7 separate regions of the Homo sapiens genome follow, and all the other regions are linked to region 1. Evidence: promoter capture Hi-C in 16 types of primary human blood cells and fetal thymus (Javierre and others, 2016). All regions are on one chromosome and are shown on one strand. Each heading gives the region's core, a stretch centred on a gene start or on the middle of the fragment in contact. The rest is flanking DNA. Distances are from core to core; before and after follow the strand shown.

Evidence for each region. Contacts are between HindIII fragments. The CHiCAGO score rates a contact against its expected background, and 5 or more counts as called.
Region 2: a contact is called between a fragment that was not itself captured here and the fragment with the promoter of BCL9 in region 1, in 2 of 17 cell types (erythroblasts and neutrophils). The highest score is 6.7, in erythroblasts.
Region 3: a contact is called between a fragment that was not itself captured here and the fragment with the promoter of BCL9 in region 1, in 3 of 17 cell types (neutrophils, megakaryocytes and erythroblasts). The highest score is 7.2, in neutrophils.
Region 4: a fragment that was not itself captured here is called in contact with the fragment with the promoter of BCL9 in region 1 in 1 of 17 cell types (neutrophils); the score reaches 6.6 in neutrophils.
Region 5: a contact is called between a fragment that was not itself captured here and the fragment with the promoter of BCL9 in region 1, in 3 of 17 cell types (neutrophils, naive CD4 T cells and monocytes). The highest score is 5.8, in neutrophils.
Region 6: a fragment that was not itself captured here is called in contact with the fragment with the promoter of BCL9 in region 1 in 1 of 17 cell types (neutrophils); the score reaches 5.1 in neutrophils.
Region 7: a fragment that was not itself captured here is called in contact with the fragment with the promoter of BCL9 in region 1 in 1 of 17 cell types (neutrophils); the score reaches 5.9 in neutrophils.

What each region holds. Positions count from the first base shown.
Region 1 is chr1:147,539,906-147,542,751 of GRCh38, forward strand. It overlaps BCL9 (BCL9 transcription coactivator), which reads left to right and starts at 1,596. Exons shown (of 10, transcript NM_004326.4): 1 at 1,596-1,769. RefSeq lists enhancers at 1,254-1,548, 1,267-2,021, 1,582-1,641. The HindIII fragment of the contact is 5,169 bases long and covers 1,505-2,846 here.
Region 2 is chr1:147,303,319-147,306,139 of GRCh38, forward strand. No RefSeq gene overlaps it. Among named protein-coding and RNA genes, the nearest start is that of CHD1L, 62 kb to the left of the region's middle. The HindIII fragment of the contact is 1,677 bases long and covers 728-2,404 here.
Region 3 is chr1:147,724,308-147,727,080 of GRCh38, forward strand. The region is part of intron 2 of LOC105371230 (a long non-coding RNA gene); the gene reads right to left. The region is part of intron 1 of LOC102723321 (a long non-coding RNA gene); the gene reads left to right. Among named protein-coding and RNA genes, the nearest start is that of GJA5, 35 kb to the right of the region's middle. The HindIII fragment of the contact is 811 bases long and covers 1,065-1,875 here.
Region 4 is chr1:147,764,523-147,767,222 of GRCh38, forward strand. All of the region lies in intron 1 of LOC102723321 (a long non-coding RNA gene), which reads left to right. It also overlaps a transcript of GJA5 not described here. Among named protein-coding and RNA genes, the nearest start is that of GJA5, 5.3 kb to the left of the region's middle. The HindIII fragment of the contact is 1,550 bases long and covers 596-2,145 here.
Region 5 is chr1:147,701,941-147,704,640 of GRCh38, forward strand. All of the region lies in intron 2 of LOC105371230 (a long non-coding RNA gene), which reads right to left. All of the region lies in intron 1 of LOC102723321 (a long non-coding RNA gene), which reads left to right. Among named protein-coding and RNA genes, the nearest start is that of ACP6, 33 kb to the left of the region's middle. The HindIII fragment of the contact is 2,111 bases long and covers 388-2,498 here.
Region 6 is chr1:147,787,737-147,790,436 of GRCh38, forward strand. LOC102723321 (a long non-coding RNA gene) reads left to right here. Exons shown (of 3, transcript XR_922079.4): 3 at 872-1,954. Among named protein-coding and RNA genes, the nearest start is that of GJA5, 28 kb to the left of the region's middle. The HindIII fragment of the contact is 8,318 bases long and covers 1-2,700 here.
Region 7 is chr1:147,741,893-147,744,759 of GRCh38, forward strand. The region is part of intron 1 of LOC102723321 (a long non-coding RNA gene); the gene reads left to right. Among named protein-coding and RNA genes, the nearest start is that of GJA5, 17 kb to the right of the region's middle. The HindIII fragment of the contact is 7,001 bases long and covers 1-2,867 here.

The sequences.
Region 1 (2,846 bases), core at 346-2,845:
AGTACAGAACTGATTCAGCAGCAGTTAGGAGCTAAGCTTCCATTCAGATCCTGTTGCATAGGGATAACTCTTCTGGCCTAGGCAGAGGAGACCTTGTTAGGTCTGTGAGTCCACAGTATCTAAAAATATGAATGTCATATAATCATCCTGTCATTCTTCTTCCTGATCTCAATTGGCCCTCCTGATTTCATGCCATCTGCAAATTTGCACATCCTTTGTGCTCCTTTTTGCTCACATTTTATGCCTTCTTTTACCATCTCATTTACTCTGCATGTTTCAATCTTTCTGGGCTTCCATTTTTCTTCTTTTTTTAATGCAGTGTTGTTTCTCTCTCTCTCTCTCTCTCTCTCTCTCTCTCTCCACTCCTTTACAGCCCCCACCTCCTCCCTCCACACCAATCAAATTCCTGCTTGTTTCTTGCCATATTCATTATCCTACCTCATTCCCCTCTTATTCCTAGAAAACAGCACACTCACCCTCCCCTCCTCCAACTCTCAGGCCCACCCTCCATAAATTCCAGCAGCCTGGCAATCAGTAACTTTAGCATCACACTTCACAGCTCTCCTAGTTTACACTACTTGTTACTACTCTCCTTGCTACTGCTCTCTAGGGTTTCTGCTAAAATAAAAAATAAAAAAAAATAAAAAAAGCTTCACTTTAAAAATATCTTGGGTACAAGTTGAACCTACAGTTAAGTTTACTCACACATTTACACATTTCATGATTTTATTTTAACTAGTAGCTCAAGTCCATGCTCAATTATGCAGTGAAAGAAGGCTAGATCCTTAGGAAACAAATTTTTCTCTATTGTAAAGAAGAAAAATCACCTAACCACTCAACAGAAACCCCAGTCCTGGGGCCACTCACCCTCTTATCTCCCTACTCCCCCAATCTCCAGCTAATGGGACTTTGCTTTTTCCTTTGTCGGGTCATTTATTTCACTTTTCCTGGCGCTGAGATGGCCTGAGTCTGTGTATGTGTGCACACGTGTGTGGCCACTGCTTTTCTTCCAAAGGACTCACCTCTCTTCTGCCATTTTACTAGGACACAGGAGGCGGCTCTCTGCTCTCGCTCTCCCTCTCTTTTTCTCCCTGCCCCCAACTCAGCCTGGGCTTTTTCCTGTCTCTTAACTCCACCAGTGCAGCAGCAACTAGCTGAGCTGCTTGAGAGAGAGAGAGAAGAGAGAGAGAGAGAAGAGAGAGAGAGAGAGAGAGGAGAGAGAGAGAGAGAGAGAGAGAGAGAGAGAGAGAGAGAGAGAGAGAGAGAGAGAGAGTGTGTGTGTGTGTGTGTGTGTGTGTGTGTGTGTGTGTGTGTGTGCCTGCGTGCGCAGCTAGGCCAAGCCTGCGAGCCTGCCTGTCACTGGAGAGTTTTAGTTTGCATTCAGAAGAAAGGAGGAGGGGAGACAAGAGGGGAGGAGGAAAAGGTGGAGGGGGGAGGAGTGGGGGGGCGCAGAGAAGGGAGGGAGAATGTCTTGTTTGTGGCTTGTCAGCAATTGCTTGAGACAAGCTTCCATGTGTGAAAGCTACTTGGCATGAATGCCTGGGCCGTACCAAGTGTCACCGCAGCAAGAGGGGGAGTCAGAAGAAAAACAGATCAGACCAGAGCAGACAATAGGCCCCTAAAGTGTTCCCCCTAAGTTGCTTTGATGTTGTCCTGGTGTCTTGATACCAGGAGGCCAGGGATTGCGGGAAAAGGGTCTTTTTTGTCTTCATTCACTTTCCCCCCTCAGTTTCTGAAATGATTCTCCAGAATTTCTCCTCATAAAAAAGGTAAGAGCCCTAACAATTCCTTCTTCGGTGGCAGGCTTGTTCGCCTGTGCCTGGAAGTGGGGGTCTCATTCCTGCGCTGCTCTGGAGGAGCGCTGGGGTCCTGCGATTGGAGCTCCTGCGTTGCCCCTGGAAGTCTTTCAAGGCATCCAGGACTGGGGATGGCCCCTCTTTCGAGGGAACCCCAGTAACACGATCTGTGCCTCTGGGTTGGTGGGGGAGAAGGGGTGGATGGAGAGGGCTGGGAGGAGGGTGTGAGGGTGGGAGGGAAAAGAGAGAGAGAGAGGGAGCGCGAGAGAGGGAAGCCTGGAAAAGAGGGAGAGAAGGGCAGAGCCTTGGTTCAGGGAAACCCCAGCCCAGAGCCCAGGGAGGCCTTGCAGGCTCCGAGCTGTGCATTCTCAGGCTGAGCAAGGGCCGGCCAGGGCTCCGCCGAGTGACTGCAGAGATTGCATCGAGCTTTGTGTGTGCCAGTGTGCCCGTGGGTCTGTGTGTGCGTGTGGACTTCCCACACACTGCCCTGGCGTGCCTCGCTGTGAAGGGGAGGCACCCCGATCCTTACCACCCCAGCCCAGACTCTCCGAGGAGGAGCGGCATGGCAGGCAAGAAGGGAGAGCAAGAGAACTCTGCCACAAGACGATCCAGAAACTTTTCCAGTCTCAGGGATTCCTCTGGTCGTAGAGACTGTTGAGTTGTGGGGTGCCCCGTGCCTCAATTTCCCCATCTGTAAAATCAAGGTTGCTGATCAGGGATGCTGTATGCCTCCCTGGGATTGAGCGAAACAGAACAGATCACTGTGTCTGAAACGCGTGGAGAAATCGTCAGCTAGAGATGCTGTGGAATCACAGAGTAGAAGTGTTATCATTATTCTTGATCATCATCATCAGGGTAATAAAAACATCATTAAAGACACCCTGAGACAAATAGACTGAGGAGCACAGATCAAGTGTCTGAGCATTTCTAAGGAAACAAAAAGCCTTGTTCCACCTGTTGGCTTCTGTCCTTTTTCTCTTGTGTCTTTTCGTTAGATTTATTGGCCGATTTGTACAGAGAATGGGGTGGGAGGGGTTGGGTTTTCCCCTT
Region 2 (2,821 bases), core at 316-2,815, 240 kb before region 1:
GACATCTCCAAACATCTCAGCGGTTTTGCCACAAAGGATTCATTTTAAAAACATTTTTGGAGGAACTGTTTAAATAAGAGAAATAGAACCAGCAGATGTTGGCCTGGACCACTTTACTACCTTGCTAACATGTCTCACTCCTTCACCCCACTTTAGGAACTTAGTGTAGCTCAGAATCTTTTTATTATTCACACACATTTGAATAAATTCTCGGCTAAATATAAAATTTGTTTCAAAGTAATTTTCCAGCAATCCTGAGCAAAAAGAACAAAACTGGAGACATCACATAACCTGACTTCAAAATATGTTACAAAGCTATAGTAACCAAAACATCATGGTATTAGTATAAAAATAAACACATAGACCAATGGAACAGAATAGAGGATCCAGAAATAAAGCCATGTATTTGCAGCCAGCTGATCTTCAACAAAGCCAACAAGATCTTACACTGGGGAAAAAAGACTATCTTCAACAAATAGTGCTGGGAAAATTGGATGGCCACATGCAGAAGAATGAAACTGGACCCCTTACCTCTCACCATACACCAAGTAAATTCAAAGTGCATTAAAGACTTTAAATATAAGACCCAAAACTATAAAAATACTAGAAGCAAATCTAGGGAAAACTCTCTTGGATATTGTTCTAGGCAAAGAATGTATGACTTAAGACCTCAAAAGCACAGGGAACAAAACCAAAAACAGAAAAATGGGACTTAATTAAACTAAAAAGCTTCTCTACAGCAGAATAAATGAGTGAAGAGACAACCTATTAAATGGGAGAAAATATTTGCAAGCCATTCATTTGACAGGTGACTAATATCCAGAATACACAAGGAACTCAAACAACTCAACAGTTAACAACAAAAGAATAAAAAAGTGGACAAAGGACATAATAGACAACTCTCAAAAGAAGACATACAAATGGCCAAGAGGTAAAAGAAAAATGCTTAACACCACTAATCATCAGGTAAATGCAAATCAAAACCACAATGAGATAATATCTTACCCTAGTCAGAATGGCTACCATTAAAAAGACAAAAAAAAATGCTGGCAAGAATGCAGAGAAAAGGGAACTCTTATTCACTGTGGGTGGGAATGTAAACTAGTACAACCACTATGGAAAACAGCATGGAGATTTCTCAAAAAACTCAAATAGAATTACCATTTAATCTAGCAGTCCCACCACTAGGTATCTACTAAAGGAAAATGAAGCAATATATCAAAGGAAAACCTGCATTCACTTGTTTATTACAGCAGTATTCATAGTAAGGCTTGTGCCTCTCTGGGATGAAGCTTTGAGAGAAAGAAACAGGTAGCAATATTTGCTGTTCTGCAGGCTCTGCAGGCTCTGCAGACCCAGGCAAACAGGGTCTGGAGTGGACCTCCAGCAAACTCCAGCAGACCTGCAGAAGAGGGGCCTGACTGTTAGAAGGAAAACTAATAGAAAGCAATAATATCAACATCAACAAAAAGGATGTCCATGCAAAAACCCCATCCAAAGGTCCTCAGCATCAAACATCAAAGGTACATAAATCCATGAAGATAAGGAAAAACCAGTGCAGAAATGCTGAAAATTCCAAAAACCACAATGCCTCTTCTCTTTGAAAGGATCACAACTCCTCACCAGCAAGGGACCAAAACTGGATGGAGAATGAGTTTGATGAATTGACAGAAGTAGGCTTCAGAAGGTGGGTAATAACACTCCTCTGAGCTAAAGGAGCATGTTCTAACCCAATGCAAGGAAGCTAAGAAACCTTGATAAAAGGTTATAGGAAATGCTAACGAGAATAACCGGTTTAGAAAAGAACATGAATGACCCAATGAAACTGAAAAACACAGCATGAGAATTTCATGAAGCATACACAAGTATCAGTAGCCAAATTGGTCAAGCGGAAGAAAGGATATCAGAGATTGAAGATCAACTTAGTGAAATAAAGCGTGAAAACAAGATTAGAGAAAAAATGAAAAGGAATGAACAAAGCCTCCCAAGACATATGAGACTATGTGAAAAGACCAAACCTACGATTGATTGGTGTACCTGAAAGTGATGGAGAATGGAACCAAGTTGGAAAACACACTTCAGGATATTATCCAGGAGAACTTCCCCAAATTAGTGAGACAGGGCAACATTCAAATTCAGGAAATACAGACAACACCACTAAGATACTCCTTGAGAAGAGCAACCCCAAGACACATAATTGTGAGATTCACCAAGACTGAAATGAAGGAAATAATGTTAAGGGCAGCCAGAGAGAAAGGTCAGGTTACCCATAAAGGGAAGCCCATCAGACTTAACAGTGGATCTCTCTGCGGAAACGCCACAAGCCAGAAGAGAGTGGGGGCCAATATTCAACATTCTTAAAGAAAATAACTTTCAACCCAGAATTTTATATCGAGACAAACTAAGCTTGATCAGTGAAGGAGAAATAAAATCCTTTCCAGACAAGCAAATGCTGAGGGATTTTGTCACCACCAGTCCTGCCTTACAGGAATTCCTGAAGGAAGCACTAAATATGGAAAGGAAAAAATCAGTACCAGCTACTGCAAAAACATGCCAAAATATAAAGACCAATAACACTATGAAGAAACTGCATCAACTAATGTGCAAAATAACCAGCTAACATCATGACAACAGGATCAGATTCACACATAACAATATTAACAATAAACGTAAATGGGCTAAATGCCCCAATTGAAAGACGCAGACTGGCAAATTGGATAGAGTCAAGACCCATCGGTGTGCTGTATTCAGGAGACCCATTTCATATGCAAAGACACACATGGGCTCAAAATAAAGGGATGAAGGAATATTTACCAAGCAA
Region 3 (2,773 bases), core at 220-2,719, 180 kb after region 1:
ACTGCCTCTAGCTCGTCAGGTGACCCAGCACCTCACTCCACCTCAGTTTCCTTTCCTAGATGTAAAGTGAGAGGGTTGGATGAGGTCAGTAGTTTGCAAACTTTTCTCTACCATGGAACTCTTTTACTATTTCTCTTTGCATGGACTTTATGTTTGAAAAGATTTGATCAGCTCAAAACACCCTGCCATTTAATAAATTATTTTTCCATTTTTTAAAATTTATTTTTATTGTATATATTTAAGGTAAACAACATGATGTTTTGATGTACATATACATAGTAAAATAATTATTACAGTCAAACAAATTAATACATCCACCACTCTCCATAGTTACCCCCATCCTTTTTTTGTGGTAAGAGCCCCTAAAATCTACTCTCTCAGTGAATTTTCAGTACACAGTACAATAATGCATTATTACTATAGTCCTCATGCTGTACATTAGGTCTCTTAGTCATTCTACCTAACTGCAAATTCCTACCCTTTGACCTGCTTATCCCCATTTCCTCCCTCCCCACTCCTGGTAACCACTCATCTACTGTTTCTATTTTTTTAACTTAACATATTTTTTAGGTTCTGTATATAAGTAAGGTTATACAGTATTTTTCTATGTCTGTCCTATTTCACTTAGCATAATGCCCTCCGCATTTATCCGTATTGTCACAAATGGCAATACCTTCTTTTTAAAGACAGAATAATACTCCATTGTGCATGTGTGTGTGTGTGTGTCTGTGCATATATATATCCATATACATATATATATATCCATATACATATATACATATATATCCATATACATATATACATATATATCCATTTTAAAAATCCATTCATCCATCAATGAGCACTTAAGTTGTTTCCATATCTTGGCTCTTGTGAATTAATATGGGAGTGCAGCTATCCCTATGAGGTGCTGATTGCCTTTCCCTTGTATAGATACTCAACAGATAGATCATTTTCCATCCTTTATTACTCAAAGACTTAAATCAGCAAGAGAAAGGAATTTTGTAACACAGAATTGACAAAACCTTAACTAAAGCAAACGTGAATAAGCCTGCCTTTTCAAAAGCTTTTGTATAATTGCTAGTAAACGCACGATTTCCACTAGACTTTTTTGAAATATTGAAAATAGCACTGGCTCTGCCATTGGCCCTTTAGTGTAAACCTGAGCATCTAAGGTCTCTGGGCTGGAAGAATTTCACTAGATGATTTCTCAAGTCCCTTCCACTGCAAAAATGTTCTAAATCTATGATCTCCTTGTGTCAATAGTGAGTTGATGCGAGCTGGAGGTTGGAGGTCCATACAAAAGGGGCATGTTAGGGCTGGCTGCAGCTCTGTGTTTAGTACAGTCTTCCTCCATTTTGATGCTATCATTCAAAATTGGGGTTACTTTCACCGGGGTTGGGTTGAAGTCTATCTTTACTGAGTTTATGAAACAAGTTTACCACAGTAAATATGTCAAAACTCCCAGTAGGCTGGATGTGGTAGCTCATGCCTGTAATCCCAGCACTTTGAGAGGCCGAGGTGAAAGGATCGCTTGAGCTCAGGAGTTCAAGACCAGCCTGGGCAACATAGTAAGACCCCATCTCTACAAAACAAACAACAACAACAAAAAGCAAAACTCTCAGTAGCTTGTGAGGGTTGTTGGTAATGACATGGGAAGCACAGCATTTCCTAGCATTTAACCTCTCCAGTCCCATGTATGTACCCATGAAAATGATATCCCAATAATGTATCATTTTTGCCATCTGAAATATTTTAACTTCCTTGGAAATTTTATAGCACTGACAAAACCACGTATTAATTGATCCAATCTATTTTGAGCCAGGAGCTGTGCTAGGCATTGCTGGGAGGGCTACTGAAGTATATAATAAGGTAAGCTTAACTGAATTTTTACAAAAATGTTTTTTAGCAGATAAGTCTTTGCAAATCATATGCATTACAGAGGTTTTGTTCTCATTCTCACTCCTAGGGAAACACAAAAAGAGATGGAGCAGTAAACAGAGAATCAAAGGGATCTGGGGGAGGTAAAGTCTGCTTGCTGTTGCCACGGAAGCAGACCTAACAAAGAAGTTAGGACAAACGGCTTCTGCTGTGTGAGGTGGGGGTCCACTTCCTCTGTACTGGCTGGGCATCATTAGTTAGTAGAGATATAAAAAAATATGCTGAATGCAGACCAGAAATGATTCAATAAGTCCATGAAAGAAATATTTATTACACACCTACCATATGCCAAGCATGTGTAGGAATACAATGGCAAATATGTCATGGTCCTTGTCTTCAAGGAGTTCTGAAACCAAAGAAGTCACATAGGGAAATACGCACCCCTGGGTGAAAAGTGCCACAGGAGTACCAGGCAACACAGGGAAGGGAATGGCTAATTCCGTTGTGGGTTACTGGGGCCACCTCACAGAGGAAGTGACATTGAGGCTGGGCCTTGAAGTAAGTTTTAGCCTAATTACAAAGGGCTTCGAAGGCATAGAGAGCCATATGACAAACTTGTGAACACTCATTATCAGAGGTGGCTGGACTTGAGTGGGGGAAAGGTGAAAACGAAGAGAAACTAGTATTGGGCCAGAGTGAGAAAAATCTGGCACTGTTACAAGTCATCACTTTACTTAAAATAAAAATATTTATTTTCCCCAGGATTCAGGGGTGTGTGGTTCTCAGGAGACTATTTAGCCAATGATTGGACAGACATTCAGTAATCATGAAAAACAAGCTGTTATTTTAGATATTAATAGTTAACAGGTAAGAAGTTCTATTTACAAGCATT
Region 4 (2,700 bases), core at 121-2,620, 220 kb after region 1:
TCTATTAAATTAATAAAATCGGCCGGGTGTGGTAGCTCATGCCTGTAATTCCAGCACTTTGGAAGGCCGAGGCGGGCAGATCATCTGAGGTCAGGAGTTTAAGACCAGCCTGGCCAACATGGTGAAACCCCATCTCTAATAAAATTCAAAAATTAGCCCAGTGTGGTGGTGGGCACCTGTAATCCCAGCTACTCAGGAGGCTGAGGCAGGAGAGTTGCTTGAATCCGGGCGGTGGAGGTTGCAATGAGCTGAGATCACGTCAGTGCACTCCAGCCTAGGCAACAGAGTGAGACTCCGTCTCAAAAAAAAAAAAAAAAAAAATTAATAAAGTCAGGCATGATTCCTTCTGTCAAGTATTTAACAGCTTTTTCTCTCAAATGGGTAGTATGCTTCTCAAAGTTAAAAGCCCTGTCTTCTACTTTGCATTCTTATTGCATTAGGTTCTCTCATTTGGTACACAATAAATGCTTTCTTAATGATTGAAGAAAATGTTTGGCTAGCAGTAAGATTGCAAAGAGGTCCTAAGGAGGCTCAAGTCTTTCTTCTTAAGGTCAGCAGTAAAAATAAAACCTCACAATAAATAAATAAAAATAAAAGCTTACATACTGTTCAAAATGTGCTTCTACATTCTCTTGTTGGTTCCAAGAGAGCAGGATCATATTTGTTCTGTTCAAGACCGAATACCTTCAGAATGTTATAGACATTCAATTTTTATTGTTGAATGAATGAATCCTCATAACCACTCTGTGGGGTGATTGTTATTGCCTGTGTTTTGCAGAGGAGGAAACATATAAAAGTGATTCGTTCAAATAAACAATTAATGGGGGAAGAACCAGGGCTTCATTCCAGAGTTTCTGTTCAAGTCTGGTGCATGCCAGAAAGTTTCATTCCATCTCCCCTCCAAGAGTGGAGCTCATCAATTCTTAGACCTTCGAGAGGACTTCCCAGTGGAGATAACTCTGGTGTAGGAGTTAGGGGTATGTGATGTCTGTAGGGGTGTGGAGTGGATGGAGGAGTTGCAGAAGAGATGAGGGGATTTCAGACAAAGGCAAGACTGCATGAACAAATTCATTGAAATGAAAACCAGCATGGTTTTAGAGTACAATGAGCAGAGCATGGAAGGAGAGTCTGCATAGCAGGCAGGAGCAGATTGTGGAGGGCTTTAACAGCCATGCCTAGGAGTTTGGAGTCATTCTCAACCCACATGATAGGCCATGCTTAGTCCATTATTTGCTCCTGAGGGCCTAATCTGAAGCCTCCAAATGGGGTTGGGGATGTAAAGGACTGCACAATTAGTAATGTCCATGCTTGTAGCAGTCTTTTAGTAGTGGCTGCAGCATCAACTAGGTAGGCTGCAGATGACAGGTACCTCCCAGCACACTTGCTGTGACTGCACCCTCGTCTCTCCTGCTTAAGAAGGTATATTGCTAGTGAGTGAGGCCCTACCATAGGGATGCCTTGAAAATTCTCTTCTTTCTCTTGATTCCAGTTCTGTCCTGTGGAGTCACACATAATAGCCTTTCTAATATAGTATTTTACAATAATTTCTGTGTCCCCCAAGTCAGCAGCTGGGCCTTGGGCTGAACTGTAAAGCCTTGGAGGTCTCACACACCTGAGAATTAGTTGCTCTACAGGCCATGTATTCTCTCTCCCACTCAACCCTGAGCTCTTTGAAGACAAACTGCTTTTCTGTTCATCATTGTATTATCCTCCTGAAATTCCCTCCACCCCAAACCCCTTAGTGCTCAATACCACACCCTGCACAGTGTGGTATGTACTTTATAAAAACAACGATGGATGAATTGATAGCATTTAGGTCTCTCAAAACACCTAATGCCAAATTGATCAAGGCAATTATTTACCGGTTGCTGAAGAAAAGGATGAGAATGCACACAGAGGCCAAGCAACACGTTGGGGCCATGCTGCATGTCAGTGGAGGGGCCTGCCTGGGAAGCTGGCATAGGGACACCTGCCCAATGACGATGGTGACCAGAACACCAGGGAGATGGAAGCCACTGAGTGTTTCTTCTACCTGTGACAGAGCCGTTCTCTCAGCAGGAATGAATGTGTCTCAAGCAGAAATTCCATCACTGTGGACTACTCTCTCACTGCCTCCTCCCCTCATAGTACTGGGGAACTTATCCAAGCTTGTCAAAATTAGATGACAAGACCACTCCACAGAGTCTGAGTCTAATTCTGGACAACGACACATGTTCTGGACAGTATCTAACAGATCTCTGGTTCTCCATAAAGGTTGTTATTCATAGTAATAATAACAACCCCCTGGGCCCATGCTATAATTCCACTCACCATACAGTGGAATGTGGTGCAGGGCAGAGTTCATTTGCTTCCCAATTAAGAAAATTCTGTTGTGAAAGGACCCAAAGGGCCTCACTGAAAGGCTGCCTGAGAAATAGTATCATATCAGTGCAGTTTAGTTCAGAAAGTGCTTATCGAGCTCCTCTGCCATGTCAGACATCAAGGTAGCTTTATAAAGCAAAGCACCAAGCATAACCTTTATGTCAGAAGTCTTTTGTACCTTATTAATTTGTGTACATGTTTTCTGATTTCCTCTCACCCCAATAATTTCTCCTTAAAATGGGTATGTAGGGAGAATTGCATGAGAAAGTGGTCTTGATCCTCAGCTACTTCAGTAATCTTTGTTATCCTTTGATATTCCCAACTACGTCTTCTAGTTTA
Region 5 (2,700 bases), core at 193-2,692, 160 kb after region 1:
ACCTCGCAGGATTTTCTTAAAGATTAGAGATAATATACGAAAGTAGCTTATCACAGAGATTGGCAGTTAGTAACAACTCAAAAAATGATAGCCAAAAATAGCAGCAGCAAGTGACCAAGAGCTGAAAATAAGTCTTAGGGTTTCTACAGGTGAGAGTAATATTCATTTAAGCTACATTTGATAACAAGGTCCTTGTTATTTAGCAAAAAGTACCCCTTAAGTGGCACCTGTGTGCCACTATAGCTAAAGAGATGCCAAAGAGAAGCTGGATGATGATGGCCCAGGAAGGTCCTCATGCCATGACCACGCTTTGGGAGCTCATCATAAATATGAAGACTGGTCTTCAGCTTCATAGGATCCATTTTATCAGTACCCCAGGAGTGTCCAAGCTTTAGAAGGCTGACGTATGTCAACTAAACTCACGTAGTTAGTCTTCAGGATAACTGGAGTGACTCTCTTTTAGGGATTGATTCATTATTCAGTTGCTGCCTATTATGAAAGTTAAAAAAAATTACTTATTCTTATATTCAACCCAACTATTTATGGAGACACAACCTCAAACTAAAATGATCAAGTTGCTATTGAAAAAAACATAAATTACAAGATACCACAGGCACTGTGATATCACTAAAATGCAATGACAATAATTATTTAGCTTACCAGCTGATTTGGACATTTTATATATTTAAGTTTTGTGCATGATTAGAACCAGAATCAGGAATAGACACAATGAAGGTGTCATAGAGTGGTAATTCATAGGTTTTCAAGTAGTGGCTTGATCTTTGCCTGAATGGAGTGGGAAAACTGCCAGCTAGAGGCCTGTAAACAGCATCTGCACTCAGATGAGGATACTGGAGTGTGTTAAGATCCTTCTCTTGTTTTGAGACCCTTCTGTTCTGAGAGAGTCTTGTAAGTGATCTCTTTGGTCAGGCAGATGTAAGGTAAGAATCCACTTGTCCTTGGGGAAACCTGCTAAGTATTCTATTTGGATCTATTATCTGGAGTGTGACCTCAGATTTAGGACATTTTTTTCTACACATGGATTTGAGCTGTGGTATTCTGAGCATTCTATGTGTATGAAATGCATAGGGGTTTTGCTCAAGCATTTGCACACTGAACGCAGGAGGCAAGGTTATGGCAGGTATGATGCACAGGACTTATTGTCTCTTTACTGCACACAAGATAAAAGACTGGAGAGGATGTGGACTGTTTGTTGTGCCACATGGTTTTATTTAGTACAGAATAGGCCATTTTTGTTACAGAATAGGGCCTCACTGTGCCCTGTAAGAGAATGGAAGACAATAGATGCTCTACAGAGACAGAGAAATGAGGTGGGCTTTGGACTGAAAATGAGGGAGATCTTTGGGTCTGGTGGAAATTGAGCCTAGATTCTGAGCATGGAGATATAATGGCATTTGTCAGCTACTCTCTGTTGTATGTCTTTGTTCCAAGGGCATTTATTACACACCCAGATTAGATTCAGATTAGCCACATTTGGGGAGCTAAGGAACATGGCTATATGCATATTTAAGGCACTACATGTAGAGGGAGTTGGTATTCCTGGAGTTACAAGACAACAAGAGGTGAAAGCAGGAGCATGGCACCTCAATATTCTGGGGGGCAAGGGCTCGGACTGAGATGGCACGTGACAAGCAGAGAGGGTTTATGGAACCGGGGAGGTTTTCTCAGTGACCACTGGAGGTACTTGAGGAGGCGAACCTGATAAAAGGCACTTTCTGCAGCCCTAGAGGATGCTTGATAGGAATTTAGCTATTGTTATTTGTGTATTAAAAGGCCAGAGAATTTGAGTACTTCTGTGCTACATAAATATACATATTTTAACACCATAGGTATAACAAGATCACTGACACTATTAGAAGCAGAAGCTCAATTCTAGGACAATATTATGAACTGGCTTTCCAAATCATTCCTAATAATGAGTAGCAACACAGAAAAGACCTTTTTTCCCCTCTATTTTCCTTCCTTTTCTCTTGCTGAGCTTGGAAATCTGGGTGAGGATCAAACAGTCCTTGCTTATGGTTCATATGGGGCTCTGCTCTCTGGAGCTCCTCCTAACAGCATATCATGCTTCATGACTCCTGCAACCGACTAGCTCTGATGCTCTGATCTGACAGGTTTCTATTCTTGATGTTTGTTTTGCTATGCATTATACATTACCCCATGCTTATGAAGAACTGGCCATTCTATCTGACTTAGGCCTTCGTGGTTTCCTTGGACTTTTAGTAGTCTCTGACCTTCTTTACCTTCTCCTTTTTTTCTTCTTTCCTCCTCTTCCTTATTCTAGAAAAGATTTTCCTTCCTGTAAGGGATAGCTTTAAAAAAATTTAAAGTGCGTATACAGATATAGTTAATCAAGATTAAATTAAAGGTAGATGAATAAAAGAAAGGAAAAACAAGGACGAGGAACAAGGGGGATACAAAAATGTATCCCTAATGATTCCAACTCTTGATTACTGGTGGGCCACCAATTGATGCCAAGCTTCCCGGAGATCACTTGAAAAGGTGGGAGCTTATTAAGTGCCCAAGCCACAGGGGTCACGAGGTGAAAACCAGCAAAACAACTTATTCCTAATATTAAAACCAGAAAGAAAATTATCTTAAGACACGCCATAAGGAAGATCTTGTGTAATATCATGAAAAGGGTCTTCAGTAACAACTCTTTACTGTAGGCACTGGGAT
Region 6 (2,700 bases), core at 9-2,508, 250 kb after region 1:
TCCAAGCCTTAATGTTCTCATGTATAAAAAGGGTGCCCCTTTTTGTAAAAAGGCTTTCTGACTGTGACAAATTCATTAAAATATTGTGATGAACAAATGTGTTCCAAGCTGCAATGTGCCAGGCAAGTGATGTTATTATCAACTAGACTCTTGCTCTCCATGCAGTGAAGCCTCTTCCTATGAGTGGAAATTATTCAGCCTTGTCACTGGCATGTCAACAACCAGACACAGCTTAGCACAGAGTCATGCCATAGGTCTGGGGCAGGACAAGCCAAGTGCAGGAAATGTGTCTGGTCAGCTTCTGCACAACCCTGGATGGAACGGGCCAGGGGAAGGGGAAATGGTTTGCCCCCTGCATTCTGCCCGTATGCCTTCCTGTGCCATCCTCCAGACCCCAGGCTCTACCCTCAGGCCTGGGCAGTGGGATAGGCTCCAAGAGTCTGGAGTGTCTAGGGCTGGGTGAGTTGGGTAAACTTTAACACAAAGCCTTATAAAATGCTTGTTTGTATTTCACTTTTAGTAAACTAAAGAGGCAGGAAAGTTGAAGACAGGTTTGGATCTTTCCAAGAAGGGCTTGGCCTCACAGGGAAGAGGTCTCCAGATGGGTCAGGGGGAAGCAGGGCATATCGAGCCTGGGGGAAAGAGGGATATGAATATGGCATCTCGGTTTTCAAAAAGTTGGCATGAAAAGGAAGATTTGACTTATTCTGGGCAGCTCAGAAGGATGGAACTGGGATCTGAGTGAGGACGGGGAGGAAGAGGGCTCACATTAACTTACTCTTATCAGGCACTGTTCTTTACAAATGTTATGACATGTAATCCTCACAACAATACCATGAAGTGGTTACTATTATTATCCTCTGTTTTACAGATGAGGAAACCAAGGCACAGAGGTTAAACAACGTGTCCAAGCCACGTAGCAAGTAAACAATTGAGCCAGGCTCCAAATCCAAACGTTCTGGCGTCAGAGTCCTATAAAGATTTTTTTGGCCTAATGTGAGGAAGTACTTTCTAAGAATAAGAGTTTACCAATTAAAAGGGGGTTGCTGTTTTATGAAGATATTTAAACCAAGGCTGAGGGGCCATTTTCAAGGGATGCTGACTCGGTAAAAGTTCTTTGGCAGCAAGCATCAGAAACCAAATGTAACAACTTTAAGCTAAAAAATAAAAAGAAGGAAGAGGAAGAAGAGAAGATGGGGTTGAGGGAGGAGGACAGGAAAAAAAAGGAGAAGAAAGGTGAAGAGGAAAGTGAGGAGGAGGAAGAGGCAAAAAAAGGGGCATTTGTTGGAAGTGGGGTGCAGAAAAAATAAACAGCTGAAGATTCAAATTCAAGAAGGACCAGAAACAAGGACTGCCCTAGGATCCAGGGAGCAGGAACTGATTAACCGTTTCTTTAGGGCACAATTACCCAAATAAATCAGCTCTAATGGATTTCTGTCTTTTTGCCATTCTGCTTAAGATTCAAGTTCCAGGGAAAGAACATTCCCTTGGCCTAGCCTTGGGAAAGATCGACAATAAAAATCGCTAATATTTATGGTGTTTATTCTCTACCAGCCACTGTTCTAAGCACCACATCTGCATGTATTTTCTTCTCACAGACACCCTATGAGATAGCTACTATTATAGCTAAGAAACTGAGACAGAGAATGTTAGCTGTCATTCAACGTGAGGCAGTGTGGTTGCCACCATGTTTGCTCTAATATCAAAATGGAAAGGATAGGCTCCCTAAGACAAAATGTTGATGTTGATGAAGAAGGGGAATGGATGCTAAGAGATAAAACCCACAGATGCTCTCTCAGGGCTTGGTCTTGCTAGAAGGGAAAGAGAGGACTCCCGAGGTGTCTTCTGACCCAGGAATTCTACATTCTAGTTTCCATCCTAACCCTCTTGGTTATTGCAAGGAGAAGATGAAACAAAGCAAGGAGGCCGGGTGTGGTGGCTCACACCTATAATCCCAGTACTTTGGGAGGCTGAGGCAGGCAGATTGCTTGAGTCCAGGAGTTCGAGATTAGCCTGGGCAACATGGTGAAACCCCACCTCTACCAAAAGTAAAATTAAAAAAAAATAGCTGAGCATGGTGGCATGTGCCTGTGGTCCCAGCTACTCAGGAGGCTAAGGTGAGAGGATTGCTTGAGCCCCGGAGGTGGAGGTTGCAGTGAACCGAGATTGCACTAATGCACTCCAGCCTGGGCAAGAGTGAGACCCTGTCTCAAAAAGAAAAAAAGCAAGGAGCAAAAAGACAACAGAAAAGATATAACAAAGGACTGAGTGCAACAGAAACATAGGAGAACAAATAGTTCCTGAACAGGATACAACCAAATGACAAAATTCTGAGAGAAAAAAAAATGCCTATCAAAGTATAACTTGAAAGACAACAAAGAAAAGATTCCAAGTCCTATAAAAGTTTGAGAATGAAATAAAATGAAGAAAAGCAGAGAGGCCAATTTCTCACAAATAGTGAAAACCTGATGTGAAACTCTACTACAAGAGGTTGCACTCCATCATGATTCACAATGAAAGTTTGGAGTCAGGCTGCCAGAATTAAATCCTGCCTCCAGCACCTCCAGCTGTGTCACTTTGAAAGCATTACATGACCTGTCTGTGCCTCGGTCTCGTCTGTAAGATTTTAATAATGCCTAATTATTAAATTAACAATTTAATAGTTATTAATAATTGTTAGTAGTGTCAGAGGAGTGTTGA
Region 7 (2,867 bases), core at 149-2,648, 200 kb after region 1:
AGATGGTTATAGGGTAGCCTCAGATGAGTTGAGAGAGGCATGAGGGTGAGGAAACAAAGAAATAGGACAGTACTAAGACTTGTGTCTAGGAAAGACTTTTGGGCTACTGGCACATGCAATTGACTGGAAGCAAATAGATTAGAAGCCTACTGTCTTTGAGAGAATTGTGTTGGCAGATAAATCATAATCCTGGCTAAAATAAATAAAAAATACCCTGAAATATAAAACAGCTCTCAGGGCTCCAAATCTGCACTAGCAGGAAGCAGGCTGTGAATGTTGTGTAGTTCCAAGGAAGGCCAACTCAACGATGTTCATTTCAGATGAGACCATGGAGGAAAGTGTACACGGAAGAATCTGCCAAAGGTGGAGCCAGGTACCAGGGAGAACAATGGACAAGGAAATTCCACCAGAGATCAGAATTAAGATCTAATCCAGAAATTTCCCCTCATATTGGAGCAGGCAGTTTTTATCGTGCCTATTCAAGCAAGATTTCATCATTGTGATGGACAAGAGACTGCTCTGTAGCTCCCATTCTTCCCTTCCCGAAAGAGGACTTTAGAATGTCCTGTACTATTCCTGTGTTTCTACCTCCATGTTGTATTTTGGGTGGTGATTAGTGGAACACAGATAGTTGTTTTGAGTTTCTAAGTCTCCAGACCATAAGGAGGTAGATCCAGACTTGCCAAAAAGAACTGCACACCTCTCAGAGATCCTAGACTTTGAGCTGGATGTGGTGGCTGAATGAGATTTTTTATTTCGTGGTGTGTGTTTATGTTCTAAGTGTTTAAGTATGGGAAGAAAGGTATCCACTGATATTTGGTGATCAATTTTGTATTTTTTTTGTATAGATGGGGTTTTGCCATCTTGGCCAGGCTGATCTCTAACTCCTAGGCTCAAGCCATCCACCTGCCTTGGCCTCTCAAAGTGCTGGGATTACAGGTGTGAGCCACCATTGCCAGCTTGTCATGGAGTCTAACATGTAATTGTTTCAAGCATCACCATAATGCTAAACCAAATGCATAATTACCATAATGCATTTGCCTGGCACACAGATAACATTAGACCTAGATGACTAGCTGTTCACCAAATATTCATATAGAATTGACATTGGGATTGACTATTTCTGAGCATCCCTTCCATTTGTGTAACTAGCTATCCCCAATGGAATATGAGTAGAAGTGATGTGTATCACTTCCAGGCTTTGATTTTTAAGAAGTTGATGGGGATGATCCACATTCTCTTCTCCTGTCTGTCATCTGAATGCTGGGAATGTTCAGCTTCTAAGGAATACTAGAGCCAAAAGATGGCCCCTAAACACCACATGAAGGGATACTGCAAATCAGAAATATATACTTTGGACAATTACATGAACAAGAAATAAATTTTCATTTTGTTAAACCACTGAATTTTGTTGTTGTCATTGCTGTTGTTACAGCATTATGGTAATTATGCAGTTGGTTTAGCATTATGGTGATGCTAGAAACAATTACATGTAAGACTCCATGACAGGCTGGGCATGGTGGCTCACGCCTGTAATCCCAGCACTTTGAGAGGCCAAGGCGGACTAATGGCTTGAGCCTAGAATTAGAAAAAAAAAAAAATTAGCTGGGTATGGTGGTGCTCACCTATAGTCCCAGCTACTAGGGAGGCTGAGGTGGGAAGACTGAGCCCAGGAGGTCAAGGCTGCAGTGAGCTGTGGTGGTGCCACTGTACTCTGGCCTGGGTGACAGAGTGAAACTCTGTCTCAAAAACAAAACAAAACAAAAGATTCCATGACGGTGAATCAAGCATCTGTTAAACCCGTAAGTGATGTTCCTGACAGAAGCATGGCGGACAGAGAAGGCAAATCCATATCCAGATAAATATCTGCTCCAATGAGAACCAAATTGTTGCCCCCTCCATGAAAAGGAATCCAATGTAATCAGCCTTCCAGGCAAGTGCTAGACTGAGACCTCTAGGCCATGGTACTAGATTAAAGGTTTCAAGGTTAGTCACTGCCTCTAAGAAATTGAATACTCAGCAGTGGTGTGGTCAGATCAGCCTCAGTAAAGGAAAGTACTTGTTGAGCTTATCTATGATCTTAATCCTACCACCATGGTGATGTTCATAAACTCACTGAGAAAAATACTGCGGTGAGTGGGAAAGAGGTTGACTGACATTCATATGGCATGAAATCTTGTACACTATTTGAGAGTCTCCTACACTGTGGACACCTTTGGGAGAACATTCTCATGGAATAAATATATTTTCACCCATTATGATTAGTTTGTTTATATGTATTTTCCCCAAAACTCCTTGTCACAAATCCATGAAGTTTATTCCTTCCAAGTTCCTGACTGCTTAACCAAACCATTAGCCCTTGTCCATGAATTGGCTTAGATCCAGATCTCAGGTCATTTGTCCTTCCACACAAAGTGCACCATGACAAATACCACTCAAAGCTCTGCATAGTGGAAGGATTTCCCTTCTCTACCGTCCTGCAGGGTCACCCCTGAAGTAGAGCTGTAAGAGCAGTCCGCTTACTGCTGGTGCCAGAATATTATACAAATCCATCTGTAAACTAGATTATTTTAGGCTGGCATTGCAGGTAGGAGATGATGCAATTGAAATGAGCTCCCTGATTTCACAGGAGATGTTTGGATCCTGGAGTGGAAGAGGCAACACTTAGCCATCAGAGGTAGGGCAGCCATGGTTACTACAAAGAACATCAGGGCCAGAGTGGAATCAGCAGGTTTGACCCACGGGAATCACTGGAAGTATTAACCTGATTATGGGTCCCTAAGAGCAACATAGAGGGGCAGCTCAGTAAATTACTTCTTTGACTGGATAATCAAATAAATTGGAGGTCTGACAAACATAAGCCTGAC